Linked DNA regions of Homo sapiens: all the other regions are linked to region 1. Evidence: promoter capture Hi-C in 16 types of primary human blood cells and fetal thymus (Javierre and others, 2016). All regions are on one chromosome and are shown on one strand. Each heading gives the region's core, a stretch centred on a gene start or on the middle of the fragment in contact. The rest is flanking DNA. Distances are from core to core; before and after follow the strand shown.

Region 1 (4,371 bases), core at 1,414-3,913:
GTTAGAAATATATAATGATGCTATTAACTGAAATTCAGTTAGTGTTTATGTGTTTATCAAATACTTTGTCCACATTAATCTGTAAAGCAAACAAGGTAATCATTTTACCTTTATATTATTTTCAATTTTTTATGAAATTTTATTTCTGTTATGCATGAAAAAATAGTATAATATGTGCAGGTGAACATAAATATTCTTACAAATATGCTAAGTATTGTCTTCATTTAAAATTCATTACATGTTCGGAGTCACCAGTGAGAAAACCATATGAATCTTGCCCATTCATTTAAAATAATTTTTAAAATTACAGACCCAGTATTATTTTAAACAATGTTTTTGTTATTCCAATTTTTCAAAGTGAATGAACAGTTTCATATATTATAAAAATCTACATATTTTAACTTTTAGTATAATGCTTTGGTATGTAAGATAGAAAAAAAATCTTGTAACAATAATCAAAAACATTATCTCTTTAAGAAATAGAATATTTCAGGTAAAACATATTTCAGCTCACATTATTCACATACTATTTCAATTCTATGTTTCATTTTACATATTTAGCATTGACTGTAGGCTCAATGCATTGATTTTATGATGCTACAAGGAAACATCTTCTAGCAAAGTAAATTCATTTCTTTATGGCTAAAAGCATGCATTGATATTCTGATATTTTCTTATCATTAAAGAAAGCACATTTTGAATACAATAATATGAATTTTTATTTCAAACTTCCAGTTATGTCCTCAAATATTTCCTTTGGCTAATGACCTTCAATGTTCATCGCCTAGTGTTTTTCAAAAGTATTTTTGGAAAACAAAGATTATAAACCATACTGTTAGTAAACTCATAAAAATTTAATCAAATTATACAAGAAAATTATGGGTTTGGGACTAGCAATTAAACAAAAATTAAGGAAGTTTGGAGAGTTTCTCATTATAAAATATGATCATAATATAATACCTCCTAAGAAAATAATCTGAATTAAAAATAATGTTGTTTTAATTTTTGTTACTAACCCACGTCATTGGGTTAGTAAATGTGTTGTTTCCACTTTCTCCCCCATTTATATAATGGCTAAAGTCACATTCTAAAAACACTTTTCCCATTTCTACACATGTGTCAGGGAACTCAGTACAACTGAAGATTGAAAAGAGAGAGAAATCAGCCATGATACTCTTAAAGAATCACAAATCTAAGAATTAATTTAAATTTTCATTATATTGAGGAATTTGTGGAAAAATTGAGTTGTAAATTACTGAGGAGTTACTCAGGATGTTTGTAGTCTATTATTAATGTGCCAGATATAAGTGATTAAGTACAGGATGCTTCCAATGCAGGACATCTTGGAAAGTATAATTGCATTTAGGTAAGAAAATATATAACTTAAAAATCATATCTATCAACATCATTTAAAATTTGACATCAAACTTTCTCCAGCAACAAATTTGTGATATATCTACACAAACAATTTATTAAGCAGACATTAGTTTCTTAAATTGTTCAGGACAGTCTGTACTATCGGAATGAGCATTAACAGATGTTTTATCCAACATTTCAGTAAGTTCCATCCTGGAAATTCTTTTTTAATAAATACTTTAATTTCTTTGTTTAATCGTCTAATATACTTCTTTGGGAAAGCTGTCACGTTTCTTTATCCACAGATATCGTGGTATCACACCCCCCTCCAAAAGCTTGCAGAGGGGAACCAGTCAAGTTGAAGTATTCTCTTAAAGATTTCAAAATTAAGAATTGTTTTAAAAATCTACATTTCCTAAACTCTAGGTTTTTTTTTTTCTTTGTAGCCGACACCATGATCCAAATAAAGAGCAAACAGTTCAGGGTTAGCAGAAGAGAGATTTAAACACATCTGGCAACAATGAACACAAAAATTAGTTCAGTAGTTACAGATATATGTGTAAATAAAGGTGAAAGGCAAATAAAAGCAAATGTAATAAATACAAAGTGATTACTTTTCAAAACTCTGCATTATGATCAACCACAGAGTAAGTGAGACTCCGAGACCCATTAAGTAGTTATTCTTTCACCTCTTTCTTACAGCTGATAACATGGAAAGTTTAAAGACCCTTCCGGGGGGAGAAATGTTTTCCAGTTGTCAAGATTCAAGCTTAGCTAATATTAGAGCTAATTTTAAAAGACATTGTTCTGTGATTAAGGTATTTGTTCAGAAATATGTCTTTTAATCCATTTAGATTTTTAATACTTGCTAAATTTATTTTCTAGAATACCATGGTAAACAATATTATCTAGTAGTATTAGATTTTGTATTCATGTTGGGGTAGTAGGCTGTATTTTCTCTAGCATGTGAAATAAGTGAGACTATGTTTCAACATTATTTCAGTGCTATCTACTAAATTCTATAATAGAAACATTGCCAAACTATATGAGAATACTACTTAGAATAAATATATTTATTTTGAATGTGCACTTACCCAGTCCAGCTCTTAAGGAAATTCTTTGTGAAATATTCTCAGGATGGAACTTTACTTTCTGAGATTCCGCAGAAGAGATTTACCCACAAGCAAGGTGGGAAAGAGTGAAAGCTTTGCAATGTGATCCTGCAATTAGGATGAGATTCAGTTAGCAGAGCTTGATGGTCCTAAAGCAGGAGGTGACACTCTCTGCTGGAGAGAGAGAGGTTGTTCTGAGTAGATTGTAAGTGTTGTCAGATTGTAAGTGATCAGCAGCAGAAGGGAAACATCAGAGCTTCCTGTTACATCACTCTGACCCCGCCTGCAGTTAGTGTTAGGTTACTTTCTTTCTCAAATAGCATACCCCAGGAAAGCAGCACTCCTTTCTTATTGTGAGACAAGAGCAAGAAGCAGCCTGAACAGAGAGAGATCATAGGCTGTGTGAATACATTGTTACCAGTAAAAAGCTGGCTGGCTTTCACCTTGACTGAGTTCTGTTAGAACTTGCCAAACAAGCTACTTGTGATTTGAAGGAAATCTGAATATAGTATTCTGCTCAAAGAATCAAAGGAGTTAGGCGTGTGTGTGTGTGTGTGTGTGTGTGTGTGTGTGTGTGTGTTGAATTATAGCTTACAAAGTATCCAGGAAAAAAAATCTAACAAATCTGTGTTCATAGCACAACACAGAAAAAAAAATTAACTGTATTCATCATAACTGGTTTTGTGATTTGGCTCTTCTTAATTTGGAGCTCTGCTAATTGGGTGCTGTTCCTCCATCAGTTCCTAAGTGCAGTTCCTAATCAGTTAATTAGATCAAGAAACTTTATCCTGCAGTTTTTAAATCTTTTATTTTTTCCTTTACCTTCTTCATAAGAACATGAGTGTATGTGTTATAAATTCAGGTTGTGTATGTGTGTGTATAGAGTGTTTCTTTTATAATATATAAGTATATATATTTGACAAAATAGCCTTTTGAATAATTCATAATTTTAAAATTATTGCACACATTTAAAAATATTTGGTATAATTATGTTATTTATAATATAAAATAATTTATACCACAATATTTGTAAGTCAATATAATCTTAAAGAAAATATAGATGTTGTAAACATAATATTATAAAATAATATAAATACAAAGGATACTTTATTTCTTAGACAAAATTTCATCTCAAAGCATAGTTTTTCCTGAATATGTTTAATACATCATTGGATATGATCAGGGGAAAATGTAAATTTAAAATGCTTTTATCATTTTTATAATTTGGTAAATGTTCGATATGAAGCAATAATTATAATCCCTATAACCTAAACAGCACTAAAAGTCACTTAATTTATCAGGGCATAAATTTTCTCATCTATAAACTAGAAGAGATAGATTTTATGTCTAAGGCTTTGAATCGACAAATTTCATAACATTTTGAAATAGATAAGATACGGTGAGGATCATTCAACTCTTAGTAAATTGTTAGTGCAATTCCAGGATAAAATGAGGTGCCATACACCTTGTAGGCAGACAAAGGAGGTAAAGGCAAAATAAATTCAGGAATATCATGTTTTTAAAGCAGGGTGCTCATGTTGACATTTTTATTGTCTGAATTAGTGGAAGAAAATGTTTATACAATCTTTGATTTTAAGACCAGTGAGATCAATATTGATTACAAAATACAGACATATAAAAAATAGATATACTTTCATCTCTATAATTATGGTTAATAGAAAAGACTTGTAAGAAACTGAGTTACACTGGTGAACCGGTTCTGATACTGTCTGGTGTGATCTTGACAAAGCTTTTTAGGCTTCATGTTCCCATCTTGAAATTCAGAGAAAAACAAATACTAGATTTAATATGAAAGTAATAATGGGTCATGTCTTCTCATCTTCCATGCTAAGTGTAATATATGAATCCTATAAAGAGATTAATATATAGTTTTTGAATTTAA
Region 2 (4,412 bases), core at 381-2,880, 450 kb before region 1:
ACACAAACTAATAAAAGATTCAGTTTTAATAAAGGAAAGAGCAATAAGTAAATTTAAAAAAGGTATTCCAAGCACTTGGGAGTTGAAAAAACAAGTAAATAAAAACCAGGAGACATAAAATAAAATACAAAATGAGGTATTAAAAACATAAATGCTAATGATAAATTTACCTCTTAAAAGATAGGTAATTTCAAATTAAATTTTTAAAATCCAGTTGTGACCAGGTACAGTGACCCATGCCTGTAATCTCAGCAGTTTGGGCGGCCAAGGCAGGAAGACTGCTTAACCCAGGAGTTTGAGACCAGCCTGGGCAATATAGTGAGACCTCATCTCTACAAAAAGATATAAAAATTAGCCAAGTGTGGTGGCGCATGCCTGTAGTCCTAGCTATTCAGGATGCTGAGGTGGGAGCATTTCTTGAGCCCAGAAGGTGGAGGTTGCAGTGAGCCGTGATTATGCCACTGTATTCCAGTCCAGGTGACAGAATGAGACCTGTTTTTTTTTTTTTTAAATCTAGTTACATGCCGTTTATGAGAAATACACCTACACATGATCATAATGAAAAGATGAAAATAGTGAAATGTGAAAACATATGCGGGCAAAGATGAACCCAACAACTATTTTGCAATATTAATGAAAGGCAAAATAGGCCTTGAAACAAAAAGGACTTTAAGGAAAAGTGATGGTCTAATTCATTAAAAAATACAGCAATCCTGAATACCTATATGTTAAAAGCAAATAATATCCTGAAAAAATGCATAAAGTGAAAATCAATAGTATTAAAGTTGAAATGGACAAATTATCAATTGTAGTGGGAGATTTTGACATAATTTTCATAAAATGACAGGCTGCATATATAGAACACTACAAACAATAAGTAGGTGAAGCAAATTGTTTTCAAACACCCACAAAGTATTTTAAAAATTTATTTAAAAAGTTTATGTACCATAAATTTGCTCTTTTTTCATGTAGAGTTCTTGCAATTTTCTTTTGCCTTTTCTAGAAAATAATATACATGGAATTACTCTGTATATTAACTTTGGAAAAAGGTTTATTTCTCTTAGAATAATAGAGTTAAGATTCATTCATTTCTTGCATGCATCAATACTTTATTCCTTCTTATTGCTGTATAGTATTTCATTATATGAATGCATCACATTTATTTATCTAGTCCCCAAGTGAGGGACATTTGTGTTGTTTCCAGTTTCTGATGAAACTAACACATTTGTTTTAAAATTACCATATTTGTGTGAATGTGGGTTTTTATCACACTTAGGTAAATGCTAAAATGTAGGGTTATTGAGCTATATGCTAAGTGTATGTTTGACTTTATAAGGCATTGTTTTCTAGAGTGGCTGTGCCATTTTGCATTCTCTTCAGCTATGTATGAGAGTTTCTGTTGGTTTGCATCTCTGCTAGCACTTGGCATTGTCAGTTTTTTTGTGTGTTTTCTTTTATAGGCATTCTAATAAATAAGTAATTGTAATTTTCATTTAAATAAAGTAAAAGATAATTTTATATTATCTTTTAAATATATTACTGGATTCAGATTTTTGAGGATCTTTTTTGTTTATGTTCATGAGAAATAGTGCATTGTAGTTTACTTTTCTTGTAATATTTTTTGTTGATTTTGGTATCAAGGTAATCTTGGTTTCATAAAATGAGTTGGGAAATATATACCCCTCAGCCTCAGCTTCCTTTTCTGGAAGAAATTATGTGAAATTAGTATTATTTCTTTGTTAAATATTTAGTAAAATTTACCATCTGGGATTAGAGTTTTTATTTTTGGAAGTTTTTAAATAAAATATTTAATTTTCTACTAGATGAAGACATAGACAATTTACTATTTAGTGAGTTTTGGTTATTTTACATTTTTCAAGGAAGTGGTCTATCACATTTAAGCTGTTTAAATCATGGGCATAGAGTTGTTGGTACTATTAGTCTTTTAATATCTGTGGAGTCTGTGGGAGTACATGTCTTTCATTCCTTACATAGTTAATTTTTGTTTTCATTTATTTCAAAATATTTTTCAAGTTCCCACTCTACTACTTGTTTGACTCATGGTTTATTTAATTTTCAAATATTTAGGTGCTTTACAGATTTTTTTCTGTTACTCGTGTTTGGAAAATATAATGTATAATATATACAAAATATAATTTGATTTTTTCTGAATTTGTTGAGGTGTTTTATGGTCTATGTTGGTGAATGTTCCATGTGCACTAGAGGAGAATATGCATTCTTCTACTAGTGGGCAAGAGTGTTCTACAAATGTCAATTAGGTCAAGTTGGTTGATAGTGTTGTTCATGCCTTCTGTGTCCTTACTGATTTTCTATCTACTTGCTCTCTCATGTCCATTACATTTACATACATTGGAACCTTTCTAGAAATGTTATAAAATTTGATTTCAAAAGTCATATATATTTTTATAAACTGAGAGGAGAAAAACATTAAATTATATTTATTCAGATACCCAAGCATTTCTTTTGCTTTATCCTCATTCTTAAGGTTACAAGTTTCCCTTTGTTATAATTTCCCTTAAGTCTTGTTTGGGTTTAAACTATTTTTCTGAACTTCTTGAATTTTTTCTGTAAATTTATATTTTTCACTGAACTTGGAGGAAGTTTTTCATCCACTATATCTTCAAATATTTTTCTTCACCAATCAGTTTTTCCCTTTACTTCATAGATGCCAATGACACCACTACTAGATTTTTTGAATCTTGTTATTATATTATCTACAGGCCCTAGAGGCTCTGGCCATTTTCATTTTCAATCTTTTCTCTCTGTTATTTAGACTAGATAATTTTTATTGATCAATTTTTAAGTTTACTGACTTTTTCCTCTGTCATCTCTATTCCTTATTGAACCTGTCTAGGAAATTTTAAAATTTCAAGTGTTGTGTTGTATTTTTTACTTTTTAAATGTCCAGTTTTTCCCTTTTCTTTTTCCAGTAGTTTCTATTGCTCTGTTAAGAACGTCTTTATTTCCATTAATTTCAAGAGCGTTCACCTTTGCCTCATGGAGCATGGTTATCATAGCTACAATAAAGTCTTTTTTCCAACATCTGGATCATCTTAGATTTGACATTTGTTGATTGTTGTTTCAGTGGAAAACAGGTCCAATTTTTTTTTTATTATTTGTATGTTGAGCAATTTTGCATTGCATCTTCAAAGTTTTGAGTAATGTGTTGTGAGAGTCTGCATCTTGTTAAAATCTTCTGAAGTTTTTTTGTTTACTAATAAATCCAGTTGGGTTCAGACCATGAGTTCTATCTTGCCTTCCACTGGTGCTAGTTCGAATGTCAGTTCAGGGTTTAAAGTCTTTATTGTTATCTGAAACAGTCAGGGATTAGTATAAGACTTTGGAGCTGATTCACAGACAATTCTTAAAGCTTTTGCTATGCTGCTTTGGATGTGTTCCATTCAGGCAGAGTTTGGGGGTACACCAGGGAATTTTCTTCTTCACTTCTTATTTATTTATTTATTTTTTATTTTTATTATTTCTTTTGGAGGTGTTGAGACCTGCTTGATTTATTCCGATTATTTAATACACAATTATACAATTGTGATCCCAAACTGTGCAAAGTGAGCCTTCAACTGCAGCTGAGGAGAGGGCAGGAATGATATACCTGGGGACGGTGGTGAGTCAGGAATGACGGGAAGGTGGCCATGATCAGGGAAGCCTCCTTCCCAGGGCCAGGGACAGGGGAGTGGCCTGAGGAGCAGGACCCAAGGGTAGCCCAGGGCCGGGGAAGTGGGCAGAGACCTCCCGTTGGCCTAGGTCAAGAGCTCAGAAGTGCCACATGGCTGAGGGGTTAGTGGCCCAGGAAGTGCCAGAGGCAGGGCCAGGAGAGCACCATTTCCTCGGGGGCTGGGGGCAGGGAGGTGCCCTACAGGAGAAGCCAGGAGGGGCCTCTTGTCCCTGTGGTGGGGGCCGGGCTGGAGCAGGCTGCAGCAAGAAAGACCTGAGGCATGCGCAGGGCCTGAGAGCCTGGCTGGCTGGGCTGGTGTGTGTGTGTTGGGGGGTTCCCAGGGCACTCTGGCCCAGGGAGCAGTTCTGATTCTGCAGGCGATGCCCAGCAAGAGGCTGCAGACCCCTCAGAACTTCCCCTCCTTTCTCCCTGGAAAGGAGCTGGGGAACCTATAGTGCAAGTCTGTGGACCACTCAGTTATGGAGGGAGGCTGTGCCTGAAAGTGGACACTGCGGTATGCCCCTTCCACCACCTTGGCCTCCACTGCTGTCCTCAGTACAGCCGCTTCTCCTAAGAGTGCAGGCCATGGACGCCACCCTTGATCTGGGCCGACATGGTTTGCTTCTCAAAATTCAGTTCTCCTGAGTACATCATGGACTGAAGGACAGACAGGCTGCGGCCCAATATCCTGGCAGCCAGGCTGGATGCCCGCTATGAGGTA
Region 3 (4,024 bases), core at 180-2,679, 300 kb before region 1:
CAGTTTTCAAAAAAATTATGAGACATGCAAATAAGAAACAATGGCCTCTACACAAGAATAAAGAAGTAGTAAATACAAACTATTTTTGAGGAAGCTGTGTTAGACTTACTAGTTAAATATTTTAAATTAACTATTTTTAATATGTTCAAAAACTAAGGGAATCCATGTCTAAGAATTGAAGGAAAATGTGTAAGCAATGTCTCCTCAAATTTAGAATACTAATAAACACTAGAGTTGAAAAGTACAATAATTGAAATGAATTCACGAGAGGTACTGAAGCAGATTTGAGTTGTCAGAAAGAGTCAGCAAACTTGAATATTGGTCCATTGAGATCATCCACCTTGAGGAACAAACAGAAAAGAAATGAATAAAAATTAAGCAAGCCTTAGAGACTTATGTGACACCATAAAATGTACAAACATATGCACAATGTAAATTCTAGAAGGAGCAGAGGTGGGGAAAAAGAGGCAAAATAATATTTCAAGAAATAATCATTAAAAACTTTCAAAATTTTATAAAAAACAGCAACCTACACAGCCAGGAAAGCCCATGAACTCCAAGTAGAATATACTAAAAGATATTCAGATCTAGGCATATAATAATCAAACTATAGAAAGAGAAAGAGAACTTTGAAAGCAGCAAGAGAGCAGCAACTCATCAACATGAGAATCCTAAATTGGATTTAACAGCTGATTTCTCATCAGAATCCATGGAGGTAATAAGGCACTGATGTGACACATTTAAAGTAAATTTTTAATGATTGTCAACCAAGAATTCTAAGTCCATTGAAACCGTTATTCAAAAGTGAAGGAAAAAGTAAGAAATTTACAGATTAAAACTGAGAGAATTCACCCTGCAATACTAGAAGACACCCTAAAATAATTTCTTAGAAAACTCTTAACTAAAAGGGAGTCCTTCACATTTCAAGGAAAGGACACTAAAAAGTAAATTGAATTCACATGAGAAAATAAAGAGCATCAGTAAAGGTAACTATAAGGGAAACATAAAGTACAATATGTGTGTTTTGTTTGTAACTCTTTAAAATCTCCTATCTAGTTTAAAAGACAAATTCATAAAGCAATAATTATAAACTTGTGTTGATGGATATATACATAAATTTATATGACAGAAACACAAAGGAACAGGAAATAAATGGAGACATATAGAACCAAAGTTTTTGTATATTACTGAAGTTAAGTTGGTATTAATTCAAACTAGAGGGTTATTGGTTAAAATATTAATTGTAATCCCAGGGAAACCACAAAAAGCTCAAAAAATGTATAAAAAATGACAAGATAGGTTAGAAAATATTTAATATAAAATAAAGCATTAGTGGAGGATAGAGAAACAAAAAATAAAAAAGCCACAGAAAACAAATAGTAAAATAGCCGATGTAAATCTTGTCAATAAGTATATTAAGTATAAATAGATTAATTATTCCATCTAAAGGCAGAAATTGGCATAACAGATTAAAAAAACATGATCTAACTATATATCCTCTATAGGAGATTTACTTTAGATTCAAAGACTCAAATAGATTATATGTAAAAGGATAGAAAAATATACTCCAAGCAAATAGTAAACAAAGAAGAGCTTGAGTGGCTATATTAATCTAAGATAAAATAGACTTTAGACACAATTATTGTAAGAGATAAGGATGTTGATAATGATAGAAGGCTCAATCCACCAAGAACATACAGCAATAAAAACATATATCAACCAAAAAACAGTGCCTTATGATAGCAACCTTAAGAGAACTGGAATAACTAACTATATCAGAAAAATTGACTTTAAACAAGAAATGTTATTATAGAGAAGAGCAGATATTTCATAATGATAAAAAGCTCAATCTATCAAGAATGAGCAAGAATTTACATATATGGCTCTAACAACAACTCTAATATACATGCAGCAAAATACTACACAACTGAATGGAGAAATAGACAATTCAGCTATAATAGTTATACACTTCAGTATTCCATTTATAATAATGGATAGAACAAATAGACAAGGGATGAACAATTAAATACAATACTGGAATAACACCATAGACCAACTAGACCTAACAGACGTCTGTAGAATGCCCAACAACCACAGAATATACATCTGTCTAAAGTGTACATGGAACATTCTCTAGTATAGACCATATGTTTAGCCATAAAACAAATATAAAAAATATAAAATGATTGAAATAACACAAAGCACATTACCTGAATAGAAGGGAATAAAATTAGAAACCAATAATGGAAAGGATTTGGGAAATTTATAAATACGTAAAAATTAACTTTGAGGTGAATATAAAAGATAATAAAACATACCAAAACTTACAGGACACAGCTAAAGTAGTGCTTAGAGAAAAATTTATACCTGAAAATGCCTTTCCTAAAAAAGAGAAAAAGATCTTAAATCTATAACCTAAGCAGCCACCTTAATAAATTAAAAAAGTGACCATAAACTAAACCCTCCAAAAGTAGACAAAAGTAAGAATTAGTAGTGGAAATAAATAAGATAGAAATATTTTACAAGTAGCAAAAAGAAATGAAACCAGAATTTGGTTCCTTAAAAAGATCACCAAAATTGACAAATTTCTAGCTAGATTTACCAAGAAACAAATAGAAAATACTTAAATTACTAAAATCAGTAATGAAAGAGAGGAGTTATTACAGAAATAAAAAGAATTATGAGAGAATACTATGAACCATTGTATGATAATGCTTTAGATAACTTAGATGAAGTGGAAAATTCCTAGAAAGAAACTACAAAAACTGACTCAAGAAAAGATAGTAATTCTAAATAGTCCTACAAGAATTAAACTGACCCACCTACCCCCTTTCCCCGCCCAAACAAAACCATCACAGATGGCTTAACTGATCAGTTCTACCAAATTTTAACCAAGATTTAATATCCATCCTTCATAAACTCTTATGAAAAATAGGAGAAGAGAATATTTCCGAACTTGTTTTATGAGATCAATATTACTCTGATACTTAAACCAGACAAAGACACCATGAGAAAACTATGGACAAATATCCTCTGTGAATATAGATTAAAAAGTCTTCAACAAAATACTAGCAAACCAAATCTGGCAACATGTACATTGTATTACACAATATGAAAAAAGTGGGATTTATTTCAGAAGCAAAAGATTGATTCACACATGAAAATCAATCAGTGTAATTCACCATATTAATAGAATAATTAATGAAAGCTGCGTGCTTATTTAATATATGCAGAAAAGGTATTTAACAGAATCCAATATCCTTTCATAATAAGAACACTCAACAGCCTAGGATCTCCAATGAGGTAAGAGCATCTACACAAAACCCACAGCTAACAGCATGCTTAATGGTAAAAGATTGAAGATTTCTCCTTAAGATCAGGAACAAGACAAGGATGTACACTCTGACGCGTTGTATTCAACACTATACTTAAGGTTCTACCCAAGGCAATTAGATAAGAAAATAATGTCATCCAGATTGAAAAGGAAGAAGTAAAATTATTTCTGTATGAAGATAACATGATTCTAAAAGCCTAAGAAATCCACCAAAAGTGATTAGAACTAATAAGTGAGTTTAGCAAGCTTTTCCAGATACAAGGTCAATATACAGATTGTATGCTTATGATTTTTTAAGTAAAAGTTTTGTTATAGTAAAAGTGGTAGATCTAAATTCACAAAGTTATAAATGTTATAGATTTGTAAAGAAATTGTGAGGAATCCATATGTTTGCATACTGTGGAATCATTAAAAATAAGTAGAATCTGTATGCTTACTGAGATACAAAAATTATCAGATTACTGATATTAAGTATAAACATGTGGTAGATTAATTGCACTTATAGCCCCATTTCTTTTCTTTCTGCATTTAATCAATTGTGATGTTCCTTTGCAAAGGGACCCCACCCTTTGTAATTTACCTTGGTGAGAGAATTAGGCAGAAGTGTTAGTGTGCCAGTTCTTAGTCTTTAGGTAATTTTGCATAATTCCACTTGCTCCCTCTTGCATGTCTGTGATTGCAACCTGAAGA
Region 4 (4,154 bases), core at 18-2,517, 470 kb before region 1:
TACCCACGAGCCCTTACTCCTCTGTCCTTATACCCTGGGCTTAACGCCCTCTCTGGTGAGACCCCAGGAGCCTCCCTCACTGGGCTTAACCTTATGGGCTTTAACCTCATAGCCTTAACAAATTGGATTAACTGCCTGGTTTTCCCACCTAGTCTTACCAAACGTGGCCTTCACACTTGGTGTATACAGCTGTCCTTAACCCCTGGTTAACCATATTATTAACCTTATAGCCATACTCACCTGCCCTCTTCAGCTGCCTGGCCCCAGCCAGCATGACTTAATCTGCTGGCTTTATACCCTACTGGTGTTTACCACCTGGTTTATTCAGCTGGCCTTTACATCCTTACCTTCCCCACAGTCTTACCCACCTAACAGTTTCCTCTAGTCATCATATGACTGGCTTGGCAACTTGCTCTTAACCCTACCAGGTGTTTCCCCTGTTGATTTCACAGACTGGGTTACTGAAATAGTCCTTAATTGAGCTGTATTTAGACACCTGGTTTTAACAACCAGGCCGAACTCAGCCAACCTTAATCTGATTGCGTTCATCACCTTATTTTATCCTCATTGTATGACGAACTTGACGTTATCCATCTGGCCTTATTAACTTCCTGGCCCTACTTGCCCAGTGTTCATGACTTTGCCTAAAAATCCTGGCCTTACCCGCCTGGCCATAACTTCCTGCCATTGTCCACGTGTTCTTACTCACCTGGTTTTAATTCGCTGGCCTCAATCTCCTGTCAAGACCCAGCTGATTTTACTCACTAAGGTTTACCCACGTGGCTTATGAAGCTCCTGCCATTGCTCCCCTGCCCTTTCTTTCTGGCCTTATCCACATCATTTTATGGCCCTGGCCAGACCCGATTAGACTTCCCTACCTGGCCTAACCCTATGGGTCTTAACCTCAAGGCCTTGATAACCTGGATTAGCTACCTAGTTTTCCCACCTAGTCTTACTGATTATACATGATGAACATGGCCTCCACCTTGGTTTTTGCAACTGTCCCTAGCCTTCTGGTTTTATCTAACAGGAATTAAGCCCCTGGATTTATCTCTCTAGGTTTTCTCCTTTGGTTTTATCATCAACATTCCCTTTTTCCCTAGTTTTACCACCAACTCCTTGCTCCAGCTGCAGCCACAGTGCCCTATTTAGACATTTTACATTGCCCACCTGGCTTTAAACTCATTACCTTCCCAATCTAGATGACCAACTTAGCTTAGTAAGCTGGCATTCGCACCTGACCTTAACCTTTCATTCTAAGTCATGTGGCCTTAACATCCTGACCCTGTTTACCTAGTATTAACCTCTATTAACCTCTTCACATTACCCAGGTGGAGTTAGCCACCTAGCTCTATTTAGGAAGGCCTTAACTTACTGGCCTAAGCCACCCAGACTATTCAATCACTTGGCTTCCTAAATTGGTTGTAACTTCACGTTTTTGCCAACTTACATTTACCCACCTGCCTTATGAAACTCTTGGCCTTACTCATCTAGTATAAATCTTCTGTCCTTAACCTTCTAGTTGTATCTACGAAGGCTTAACCCATTGGATTTACCTCCCTAGGTTCACTCCCCTAAACTTATCACCCTTTACTTATTCCTGAGATTCCTGGACATAGACACCTTGCATTACTCATCTGGATTTACCCACCTGGCCTTAACCTCATGGCCTTACCATCCAGGATTACCAACTTAGCTTACCTCCCTGGCCTTCCTGCCTGGCCTTAACGTTCCATTCTAACTTACATGGCCTTAACCTTCTGGCCTAATGTGCCTAAACTCTTTGCTTTACCCACTTAAACTCAGCCACCTAGTTGTATTCAGGGAGATCTTAACTTGCTGGTCTTACCCATCTGGCTTTTTAAATAGTTTGGCTTCCTGACCCGGCCTTAACCTCATGGTTTTGCCAACTTAGATTTACCCACCTGCCTTATGAACCTCCTGGCCTTACTCATTCAATATTAATCCCCTGGCCTTGTGAATCTGACTTACCCACTTGGCCTTACCCTACGGGCCTTAACATCATGTCCTTACCAACCAGAATTACCCAGCTGATTTTACCTACCCAGCCTTACCCTGTTGTCCTTCACAATTAGTCTCAATTTTCTTGTCTTATTTAGCTGTCCCACCCCTACTGGCCTTAACCTAGTGTCATTATCAGCTTTCCCAGCCCCTGGCTTTACTTTCCTGGCCTTTACCTATTGGCCTTCCCACATGACTGTATTTTCTTGTCCTTACCCACTTGGCCTTGTGCAAGTACTGGCTTCACCCAATAGGCCTTCTGCAACCAACATTATTAACCCGACAGCCATACTCACCTGCTGTATTCACCTGCCTGGCCTCAGCTGGCATAACATGATTTAATCTGTTGGGCTCATACCCATCTGGTGTTGACTACCTCGTTTTATTCAGCAGACCTTCACTTCCTCACCTTCCCCGCACTGTCTTGCCCACCTAGTATTAGTTTCCTTTCATCATTTAGCTGGCTTGGCAACTTGGCATTTAACCTACTGGGAATGTCTCCATTGATTTACTGGCCCGGGGCTACCCAAATAGCCTTTTATTCAGCTAAATATAAATGCGTGGTTTTAACAACCTGGCCTTACTCACCAGATGTTATTAACCTCGTTTTCTTAATTACTTTACCCTCATGGCATTATTAAACAAACTTCATTCATGTGGCTCTATGAAATTCCTGCCCTTACTGACCTAAGCTTAATTTCTTGTCCTTACTAAATGTCTTGGCCTTATCTACCTGACATAACTTCTCGCCATTATCCTCTTGTTCTTACCCAGCTGGCTTTAATTTCCTGGCCTCAATCTGCTGTCAAAACCTACCAGCTCTTGCCCATGGTGCCTTACTGCCCTTTCTCTACTCCCTGGCCTTACCCATCACATTTTATTTATTTATTTTTTGAGGAGGAGTCTCCCTCTGTCACCAGGCTGGAGTGCAGTGGCGCAGTCTCGGCTCACTGCAACCTCCAACTCCCTGGTTTAAGCAATTCTCCTGCCTCAGCCTCCCGAGGGGCTGGGATTACAGGCCTGTGCCACCACGCCTAGCTAATTTTTGCATTTTTAGTAGAGACGAGGTTTCACCATGTTGGCCAGGCTGGTCTTGAACTTCTGTCCTCAAGTGATCCACCTGCCTCGGCCTCCCAAAGTTCTGGGATTACAGTCGTGAGCCACTGCACCTGGCCAACCCACCTCATTTTATCACCCTTGACAGAACCCATTAGCTTTCCACACCTAGCCTAAACCTATGGTCCTTAACCTCATGGTCTCAACAACCTGGATTATCTACCTAGTTTTCCCACCTAGTCTTACCCATTGTGGGTTTCATGCTAAGTTTATACAACTGTCCTTAACCTTCTAGTTTTATTTACCAGGGCTTAGCCCCTGGTCTTATTTTCCTAAACTTACCTCCCTAGGTTTCCTCCCCTGGACGTATTTCCCTGCCCTTATTACCTGGATTTCCCACCGCACCCTAACTTAACACACCTTACATTTCCCATTTGGACCTACCCATCCAGCCTTCACCTCATGGCTTCAATAGCTTACCAACCTGGCCTTTTCATCTAGCCTTATCCTTTCATTCTTAGTCACATGGCCTCAACCTCCTAGCCTAATCTGCCTGGCATTAACCTCTCAGCCTTACCCAGTTGGAGTTACCACCTAGCTGTATTCAGTGGCCTTAACTTACTGGCTTTACACACCTGGCTTTTTCAATGGCTTGGCTTCCTGACCCGGTGTTAACCTCATGGTTTTGCCAAAATAAATTTACCCAGCTGCCTATTAACCTCCTGACCTTACTCATTCAGCATTATTCTGCTGGCCTTATGCACCTGGCTTACCCACCTGGCCTTACTCTGCTGGCCTTAACCTTATGTCCTTACCAACCCGAATCACCCGACTGATTTTATCTACTCAGCCTTACCCATTTGGCCTTCACGATTAGTCCCAGTTTCTGGTCTTACTCACATCTCTCAACCCTACTGGCCTTAACCTAGTGGAATTATCCTCAGTCCTGACCCTTGGCCTTACTTTCCCGGCCCTCACCTATTGGCATTTCCCTATGGCCTTAAACACTAGGCCTTCCCCACCCAACCTTATTAACCTTAGGGCCATACTCACCAGCCATGTTCACCTGCCTGGTC
Region 5 (4,367 bases), core at 326-2,825, 320 kb before region 1:
CTTTCGATAAACTGATTACACATTAAACTTAGGACTTGAATTAAAAAAAAAATAAGTGGAAATGTAAGTCAAAACAAATTGTTTAACCTAATTTGTAAATTTTCCAGCCATGAAATTTCTTCTCTCTGTTCTTCCTCCTTTGTCTAATTTTCCTTCCTAAATCAGAAGTTTTGGGGATATTGTGGTCTATAGCCACACTTTACATCTACACATTGTCAAATTTGATATATTTGTATGTTTTCTAATAAGCCCTTTGAAAACTGCAGCACATTCAATTTCTACTTGCTCAGTCTCTGAAATCTAGTCATTTTAACTCTAGATAGCACTGTTTTTAAATATAGAAAATAAAAAATATACTCTTCTTTAAATGTCCTATAAAACTATTTTCATGTATATTTCTGTCATCCTTATTTCTCTGGTGACATATGCAGTTTCTTTTTATTGTTTACTTTTTCTTTAAAATGAGAGATGAAATAACATTATTTCAAGGAGCTGAAAAGTCAGTCTAAAATTATTTAGTGAATTTCATCTGTGGAAACATTTTTCTTTTGGTCATTTTGTATTTCCAGTGAACTACATTTTAGATTTCACAAATTAGAGATGAAAATGTGCATCAGAGCCTTTATTTAAAGCAATATACTAATCAGGAGAACAATTTATTTTTAAATATAACTATTTCTCAGAATCACTGGTTTATATTGAGAGCTTATCTGGAGGTTCTAGCACAGTAGCACAACTACCAGTACACCCTGGATGATGAACAGTCCTCCTCTATCTGGGAAGGTTGCTCTCTTTGACTAAGCTCTCAGCTTCAGAAGGGATGCACATGGAACAGTAAGGTTGAAAGGGGCACCTGCCTAGCCAGACAGATCAGCCCAAACAACCCTGGTGATCAATGGAGCGATGTTGCAGCCAGATGACCTTCACTAGTTTATTTTGAAATATTCATCTGCATCACTAGATTTTTTTCAAAGAAATTTAACTACATGTTAACATATACAATACAATTCGTGTACCAGTATGAAAATACATTATTGTAGTAAGTTCTACATTTTCATGAAGAAAAGAAAATTAAACATATCTTAATTGTACAAATAGTTTAAGCCAATATTGACTTTAGAATACTAGAATTAGTCAAAATATAGGTCTTTTAAATTACTTCAGTACTAAGTTTCTTACTAGGCTTGAAAGACACCCTATTCTCATTAGTGATATATTTACTTACCAAATACTAGGGTGGATGCCTGCAGTATATCACTTATATATGCATTTTATGTTGTTTTTTATTTCAAGTTTAGAGTAAAATTTTTGACATCACATTCTGAGATTACATTTTCTCCTGAGCTAATAGCACCCTACATGTTGGATATAGATGAAATGTTAAAATCCAATTCTGATTCCCCTCATTAAGTGAATTAACAAGAGTTATATTATTGCTGTGTAACAGAACCAGAATTTACACGAAGGAATCCCCAATTTTCAGTTTAGGGTTATATTTCCCATAACTTATGATGTCTATATTTTAAGTAAACTTTTTTTCTAACAAAAAAGACTGATGTGACTCAGTTTATAGTGTGTATCCAATCTGTCACATGCAAATGATGTTGAAATTCCTGGAAAACAAGAATGAAGTGATGGAAGATCATCACTTGATATTGCTTATCTCTTTAGTTCTGTCTTAAAATATCTTTTGAAACCAGTATTTTTTTCTTCATTTCTTTCAATAGCCAACACAAACTTTGTTAAGAGAGATAAGAAAAAAGGAAAAATTAGAAAAAATATTATTCCAGGGTGTCTTAGGGCTGTTAAAAACTACTGAAAAGGATTTACATTTTCAAAGAATCAGGGATGTAGTCTCCTTCCTCATAATTATGCAGAAGAATACACAAACGGTAGTTAAAATGTTAAATGATCTAGGAATAATACAGCCAATGAGGTCTATGGTATAATATTGTTATCAAAAATATGGAAAATAGTATTTCTAAAGAAGAATATGGAATTCATTTTCTGGGAGTAGAAACTATGCATGACCTCAGTCTTCAAGAACTGTAAGTTTTGCAAAGTTTGTCAACTTCAGGATAAAATACAAATTCCTTAACTTAGTGAACGAGATTTTGTGACTTGCCACTGCCCACATCTTCAGCTTTGTTTCTGCTATCTTCCCACATTTTCTGTGCACTTTTATCACTCCTGGGTATAGGTACTTTCCTAAACTTTCTTTTCTCTCTATTTTTGGCAAATGGTAGTATCTTAGTTTTCCCCCAGCTCAGTTTTCAAGACTCAGCTTAGGTGAAGTGTCACTGTGTAATTGTAAAATTCTCTGTAACCCACCATCCAATCGTTTTCAAAGGATTTTTTACCTGTGTTCAAAACTTAGTGAGCAAACACATTTTTAATACCTATCTCTTTATTATTAATGCATCTAGTGCATAATTTCTGGTCATAAAATATTTATTCAATAAATAAATGATGTTAGAGTTAAGAAATAGAAATGAATACAAACAAAGCATATTTGCCTCAGTTAGGGGTTATTTGCCTAATCCAGCAGATCAGATCTTGCCTCCCTTCTATGAGCATATCTTGTACTTTTTCTCTAAAAATTTCTGCAAGAAAAAACAGGACTGTGAAATGCTTTTTGCTTTCACACATTATTCATAAAAGAATGACATTTTAATTTTTACAAATTGAGATGTCTTTTGTCACACCCAGTGATATCAGCCAGGCTCACCTCTGATGTCAGTGAGTTTACTATAGTTCATTTCTACATGGACGGGTCAGCCTCTAGTGCAAAAGACTCGAGCAGGGCAGGCGTTTTGGCTACACAGAGATGTAACAGGATCACAGGGCTTCACATCAGTTAACATAATCTGTATTCCCAGTAGTGAATTCCAACTGGCCTCAGTAAAATTGGAATTTGCTTATAATTAAACAAGGAAGGAGACTGAAAACCCAGACACAAGTTTACAATGGACTAACTCCCATTGTTAATTATCAGAGCTATCAGACTTTCGAATTGTAGTTTTTATTAAAATGATGTCATGCAAACACACACACACGTACTATGCATATATCTATCACGGATTTTTTTCTTTCTAGTCAATCATTCTATTGATAAAGCCATTTTTTCATAGTTAACTTTAGCTAAAAAACACATGATCACAAAACAAAACATGGTCTCTATTTTTATTGGATACAGCGTCTTCATTTCCAGGGGTAAATTGCTTACATTTGTATTTTTAACACTCATACATCAGAAATGTTTAATTAAAATAACCCACAGGTGAGGAATTTTAGTCTGGTTTTATTTTTCTTCATACTATTGTCAATGCTCTCTTACCTGTGGATTTCACAGTTTGCCTTCCAGGAAGTCTTCAGGATTGTGTGATTAGAAGAGGGGAAGGGGAGAAAAGCTTGCAAGGCAACTTCAAGAGCTAGGAATCACTTCACAGAGATATAAAATAAAAGGGTGGTCATTTTTATCTTTTTCCATTTACCCTAGCTATGTTTTGTTTTTAACTGATGAGTTTTTTCCATTTAGAAAGAGACCTAATACTCAAGCTTGATTTTCATTTTTTGCCTTGGCCCAAAGAACCTGAAATAAGGCCCAGAATGACTTTGCTTACTTTAATGTTACCATTCTCATCTTAAAGATTTTTATTTAGAAGTGTCTAGGAACAGTTTAGTTACATTTCTCATGAAGTTAAAGGAAAACTTACTGCAAAGGCTCAACTATGAAGCAATTTATTACTTTTTAGTTCTGAGAAAAATCTTTTTTGTCCAAGGGTGAGATTAATTTAATTCTAAATTTGAACATCAAATTCCATGGCTAAGGAAGTACATATAATGGGCACATTTTAGAAGAATCTTTATGTTAGATTCTAAATTCTAATTCTGTGATTCTGTCAATTTCCACTTGCAATGTACCATCATGTCACATGAAGGAAGCCACTAAGGTCTAAATCTTAAGGCATAATTTTCAGAAAAGAGAGATTGTAATATAAATCTGAAGAAAGATGAATTTGAGTTGGGTTATTTGGTTTTTCTTTTTCCTTTTCACTTGAGTTATGCTTAAACAATAGCAAATAACATTTTTTCCTAATCTTTTTTTTTGTAGGGAGAATGTGTAGAAACAGTGATGGTCAAGACTAGAAAGAAGGAATTTGTAGAGGAAAAATAATATCAATGTTGTAACCTCATAGAAAGTATCTCCTAATTTGTTGTTTTTCAGTTTCTCCCTCTTCATTCCAGTGTAGGTTACTCTAAGTAATCATTCTAGTTTCATTTGCTAGAATCATGATGGTGATATGTGAGTTGCATTATATTTTACAGGAAATTGAATGTTCCACAGTATTTTATAAGGTATATGG
Region 6 (4,060 bases), core at 460-2,959, 280 kb before region 1:
AATCTTTTTTGCTAAAATTCTCTCTTATAAAATATTACTTGGACTATACAATTTTCACTTTTATTATCATTTGTCTGCTATAGCTTTCCTCCACACCGATTTTCTATGTAGTATTTCTTTTAAGTGTGTGTCTGATAGAGGGTGTAAAAGGATTATTTTTTTTCCTAATTCAATCCAAGAATATCTGTTTTAGTGGATGATATAATCCAGTTACATTTGTTGTAATTACTAAATTTTATTTTCCAATTTGTTTGTGTTTTCTTTTAACCAGGCATTTCTTTGTCATCTTTGTCCTTTCGTACCTTCTATTTGCTCACTTTGTTTTTGTATTTTATTTTCAGTCATTTTAACCATTATATGCAAATAACTTCTTATATTTGAATTTATTCTGCTAGTTTGTACTGCTTCTTGAAGTAGTTAGCAGTTTTTTAAAATTTGAAGCCATTTCTTATTCAAATATTTCCTTATCCCATTCTTCATCTTCTCTTCCTTATGAAATCCAAGTACCCGTTGGTTGACTCTTTCACCATGACTCGTATATCTTTACACATTTTTCTTTATATTCCATTCTTTGTGCTTCAGATTGGATTTATTTTCTGAGATACTGTCCAGTTTACTGCTTCTCTCTTCAGATTTGTCTAATCTTTTATATTAGACATTACTGAGTTCTTAATTTCAGATATTCTTCAATTCTAGAATTACCATTTGATTCTTTCATATAGTTTCTAGTTCTTGGCTGAAATTGTTTGTTTTGTCATTTAATGCTTATGCATATTAACCTCCATTATTTTAAAATTATTACTCCAAATTCCAATATATGGATCTCCAGTGGATCTATTAGCTGATTTTTCTCTTCATTTTATTTTCAGTTAATTCTTTCCTTTTATTTACATTTATTTATTTATTTTTCCTGCTGCCTGTTTTTTATTGAGTATTATTGTATGTAAAAAATGTTAGATGTGATTTTATGTTTTTAGATCACATTATCTTTCTCCATAGAGGATTTTTCTTTTGACTCTGGTAGGTAGTTAAGTTGTAGCTGGTGCAAATTAATCCAATTATACTTTTAACTGATTCAAAGTTGGTCTTCAGTCTGCGAGTGTTAGTTTATTTCCAGCTCATATTTATTTCTAGGGTGTATCCTTTGGAGATACAAACTAAATATTCAGGGTCTATAGTAGAACCCCTCTTTCTTGGATGGTTCTGAGATTCAATTTTTGTCTTAAGCATTGAGAGACTGCCAAAAATGTTTTCTTTCCCCAGCTTCTTAGCCTCTCAGCTGTGCTTTCTGTTTTCCTCTTACCTTCTCTAGAGATATTGCTCTAGAATGTAACAATGCCTCTATGGGAACATTTAATCCTCCTTATCTCAACCTCAAAACTTCTGCTGTCCATTAATCCTCTAAGACATTCTCTGCTTTTTGAGAGGGGGAAGAGCAAGGAATTTCAACCACTGTTCCCTCATTATCCTGGACCACATACAACCTTCAAGCTCCATCTATCCTTATGTTTCTCTAAGCTTTTCTATTCTGCTGGTCAGGAATCACGGTGTAAATGGTAGCTGTTTATCAGACTGCTATTTTGGAGTAATTTAGGATGCTAGGCTACAGTTTTCTCATGCTCTAGATCTTCCAATCCTGTGAGATAAAGACCTATGCATAAGGGTTTCTGTTTTCCCAGTTAATTCCCAGAGCTTAGCCTGGAGCTTAGGTCATTGAGCCTCTTTCTCAGATACTGACCAGGGCCTAAAATCCAGTCATCTTCTTTCTAATTTCCCCTTCTTTGCTTTCTTTTTCAAATCTTACCAATTAGAGACAGGAAACAACTCTTCTCTACTTACTTATTGTTTCCACTTTATGGATTACAAGTCTGAACATGCTTTCACTCTTCATATTTAAAATCAAGCTTTTGAAATAACTAAAAATATACAAACAACTGTTTTCACTCTCAAACAACTGCTCTTTTAATTTGAACCCAGAGTTCTCAAAATTATAGTCTTTACTATAGTTTTATAAAAGTCAACTTAAATATAAGTAATTTGACTTTTACTTTTTATCTTAAAGTAAGATAAAAGGCAGCATACATAAATCCTTGTTGAAGTTTGGATGATTAGAAGAGTTAAGATTAAGAGTAATCTTCCACTAAATAGAGTGCTAACTCTGTAGTGTCCTGAGACAAATGATATAGCTATAGTGACAATAATAATGTCAGTCATTTATTGGGCGCATGCTGTGTTTCTTAAATGCCCACAATGTTTTGTGAATCTGTATGATTTCCTCAATAACTTTGTGAATTTATGATAATTACAAGTGAAAAAACTAAATGCTTTTAGAGGACAAGTAACTTGCCCAACTCACTAGTAAGTGGTAGCTGTGGAATTTAAGCCAAGGTCTGTCTGACTTCAAAGCTGTTTGTGTTTGTTCTCTATACGATGCATAAATTTTTAGCTATTAATAATTATAATTTACTTTATTCCTATCAATATAATAGTGGTAGTATGGAGTATCACCTGGGAAAAACAACTCAGTTTATGAAATACTGATATTCAGGTGAAATTTTATGTTATACTTGAGAAAGTGTTTTATAAGCTGTTGTAATATTTTATTTTTTCTATGTATACCTACTTTATTTTCTAGATTGTAAGTTTCTGGAGATAGGAATTTTCTTTTCTCTTTTATGTCTCTTAATATATTTATTATACTAAATCCCAAACAAATTTTTGATCATTATTGATTTCTGCTTTTTTCTAAAAAAATTAGATTATGTTTGTTAATTAATTACTTTGTAGTTGTATTATTCTATAGACTATTTTGGTGTTTGATGTTTTTTAAATTACACTTTTCATTTAACAAATGCAAACCTAAAGTTGCAATATAATTACAAGGGATTCCATATACCCTTCATTTAGATTCATTTGTTGTTAACATTTTGCCACATTCACTTTATGTCGCTCAAGACATATTGATGTGGACATTCTCATTATTATTTTCTTTTTGTTCTGGCGTAATCCATGTGAGAGTAAGCTGCGAGAGATCATGACCTTCACTCCAAACACTTCAGTGTGCATGTCTAAGAAGAAGCGCATTTTTTTGTATAATCACAGTACAATTATCAAATTCAGAAATGTTACTTTCATAGAAACTGATTATCTAATACCTTATTTATATCCAAATTTCAACTTTTTTGTCCAAATTACTGTCTTTTATAGCAACATTATTTCCTGATTCAGGATCATGGATTGCATTCGTCATGTTTTTTAAATTGCCTTTATTTTGAAATAGTTCTTCAGAATTTTACTGATTTTTATGACATTGACAGTTTTGAAGAGGCCCCTTCATTGTGTGGTTGTATCTGACTCCTTGCACCAGAAAATATATTGTCCAGGTACTTAGCGATAACTAATGTTCCTTTAAAAGGAATATAAGGGCTTTTAGAAAATATAGCTGCAGGTTAAATATAACTGCAGATAACACTAAGAGTTAAAGGGAATAATGTCAGACAACAAGGGAAAAGTTTACAAAGCTTTTTTTTTTTTCTTCACAATTTTACCCAGAACCAGCTCTGATAGTTACCATGGTCATAAGTTGAAATGAGAGTACCATTTTTTTCCTATTCTTACTGCAGACCAGGGTAATGAGATTTACCTCTGAACAATGAATGATCAAAGAGGCTTTTACCTACTGTTCCTTCAGGAAGCAAGTTTATCTCATGGTAAGCTAGTAGAGTATAGAAATCTAAATATCAAACTATAAATTCTGGAACTCAATTTGAATGTCAGAGTGGTAAGGGAAGAACACTGGGCTCAGACAGACCGAGAGATAATAACAATAATAGTATAGCAATAACAGCTATTTTTGAGCAATAAATATTTATGATCACTGTGCTAGCATTACCTTGTATCCTTAGAATAACTCAAGGTAGGTTTCATAACACCTGATTATAAGGCAGGGAACAGGTTTAGAGAGATTAAGTCAATTATCCAGCATCACAGCATCAGTCATTCAGGTAGTAAGGAAGAGAATCAGGATTATGTCATTATGTCATAGGCCTGTCTTAGCCCT

Evidence for each region. Contacts are between HindIII fragments. The CHiCAGO score rates a contact against its expected background, and 5 or more counts as called.
Region 2: a fragment that was not itself captured here is called in contact with the fragment with the promoter of CALCRL in region 1 in 1 of 17 cell types (endothelial precursors); the score reaches 5.3 in endothelial precursors.
Region 3: a fragment that was not itself captured here is called in contact with the fragment with the promoter of CALCRL in region 1 in 6 of 17 cell types (M2 macrophages, megakaryocytes, M0 macrophages and 3 more); the score reaches 16.1 in M2 macrophages.
Region 4: a contact is called between a fragment that was not itself captured here and the fragment with the promoter of CALCRL in region 1, in 2 of 17 cell types (endothelial precursors and megakaryocytes). The highest score is 7.4, in endothelial precursors.
Region 5: a contact is called between a fragment that was not itself captured here and the fragment with the promoter of CALCRL in region 1, in 3 of 17 cell types (megakaryocytes, M2 macrophages and endothelial precursors). The highest score is 8.9, in megakaryocytes.
Region 6: a contact is called between a fragment that was not itself captured here and the fragment with the promoter of CALCRL in region 1, in 3 of 17 cell types (M2 macrophages, megakaryocytes and M0 macrophages). The highest score is 10.2, in M2 macrophages.

What each region holds. Positions count from the first base shown.
Region 1 is chr2:187,445,589-187,449,959 of GRCh38, forward strand. It overlaps CALCRL (calcitonin receptor like receptor), which reads right to left and starts at 2,664. Exons shown (of 15, transcript NM_005795.6): 1 at 2,451-2,664. All of the region lies in intron 2 of CALCRL-AS1 (CALCRL and TFPI antisense RNA 1), which reads left to right. The HindIII fragment of the contact is 1,657 bases long and covers 2,560-4,216 here.
Region 2 is chr2:186,997,633-187,002,044 of GRCh38, forward strand. It overlaps the pseudogene IMPDH1P7. Among named protein-coding and RNA genes, the nearest start is that of CALCRL-AS1, 3.4 kb to the right of the region's middle. The HindIII fragment of the contact is 3,517 bases long and covers 1-3,389 here.
Region 3 is chr2:187,144,227-187,148,250 of GRCh38, forward strand. All of the region lies in intron 1 of CALCRL-AS1 (CALCRL and TFPI antisense RNA 1), which reads left to right. LOC124906106 (a long non-coding RNA gene) reads right to left here. Exons shown (of 3, transcript XR_007087543.1): 2 at 3,915-4,017; 3 at 265-340. Among named protein-coding and RNA genes, the nearest start is that of CALCRL-AS1, 140 kb to the left of the region's middle. The HindIII fragment of the contact is 4,297 bases long and covers 1-3,578 here.
Region 4 is chr2:186,980,936-186,985,089 of GRCh38, forward strand. No RefSeq gene overlaps it. Among named protein-coding and RNA genes, the nearest start is that of CALCRL-AS1, 20 kb to the right of the region's middle. The HindIII fragment of the contact is 2,889 bases long and covers 1-2,712 here.
Region 5 is chr2:187,121,935-187,126,301 of GRCh38, forward strand. All of the region lies in intron 1 of CALCRL-AS1 (CALCRL and TFPI antisense RNA 1), which reads left to right. It also overlaps the pseudogene RN7SKP42. Among named protein-coding and RNA genes, the nearest start is that of CALCRL-AS1, 120 kb to the left of the region's middle. The HindIII fragment of the contact is 3,665 bases long and covers 1-3,408 here.
Region 6 is chr2:187,164,720-187,168,779 of GRCh38, forward strand. The region is part of intron 1 of CALCRL-AS1 (CALCRL and TFPI antisense RNA 1); the gene reads left to right. Among named protein-coding and RNA genes, the nearest start is that of CALCRL-AS1, 160 kb to the left of the region's middle. The HindIII fragment of the contact is 386 bases long and covers 1,517-1,902 here.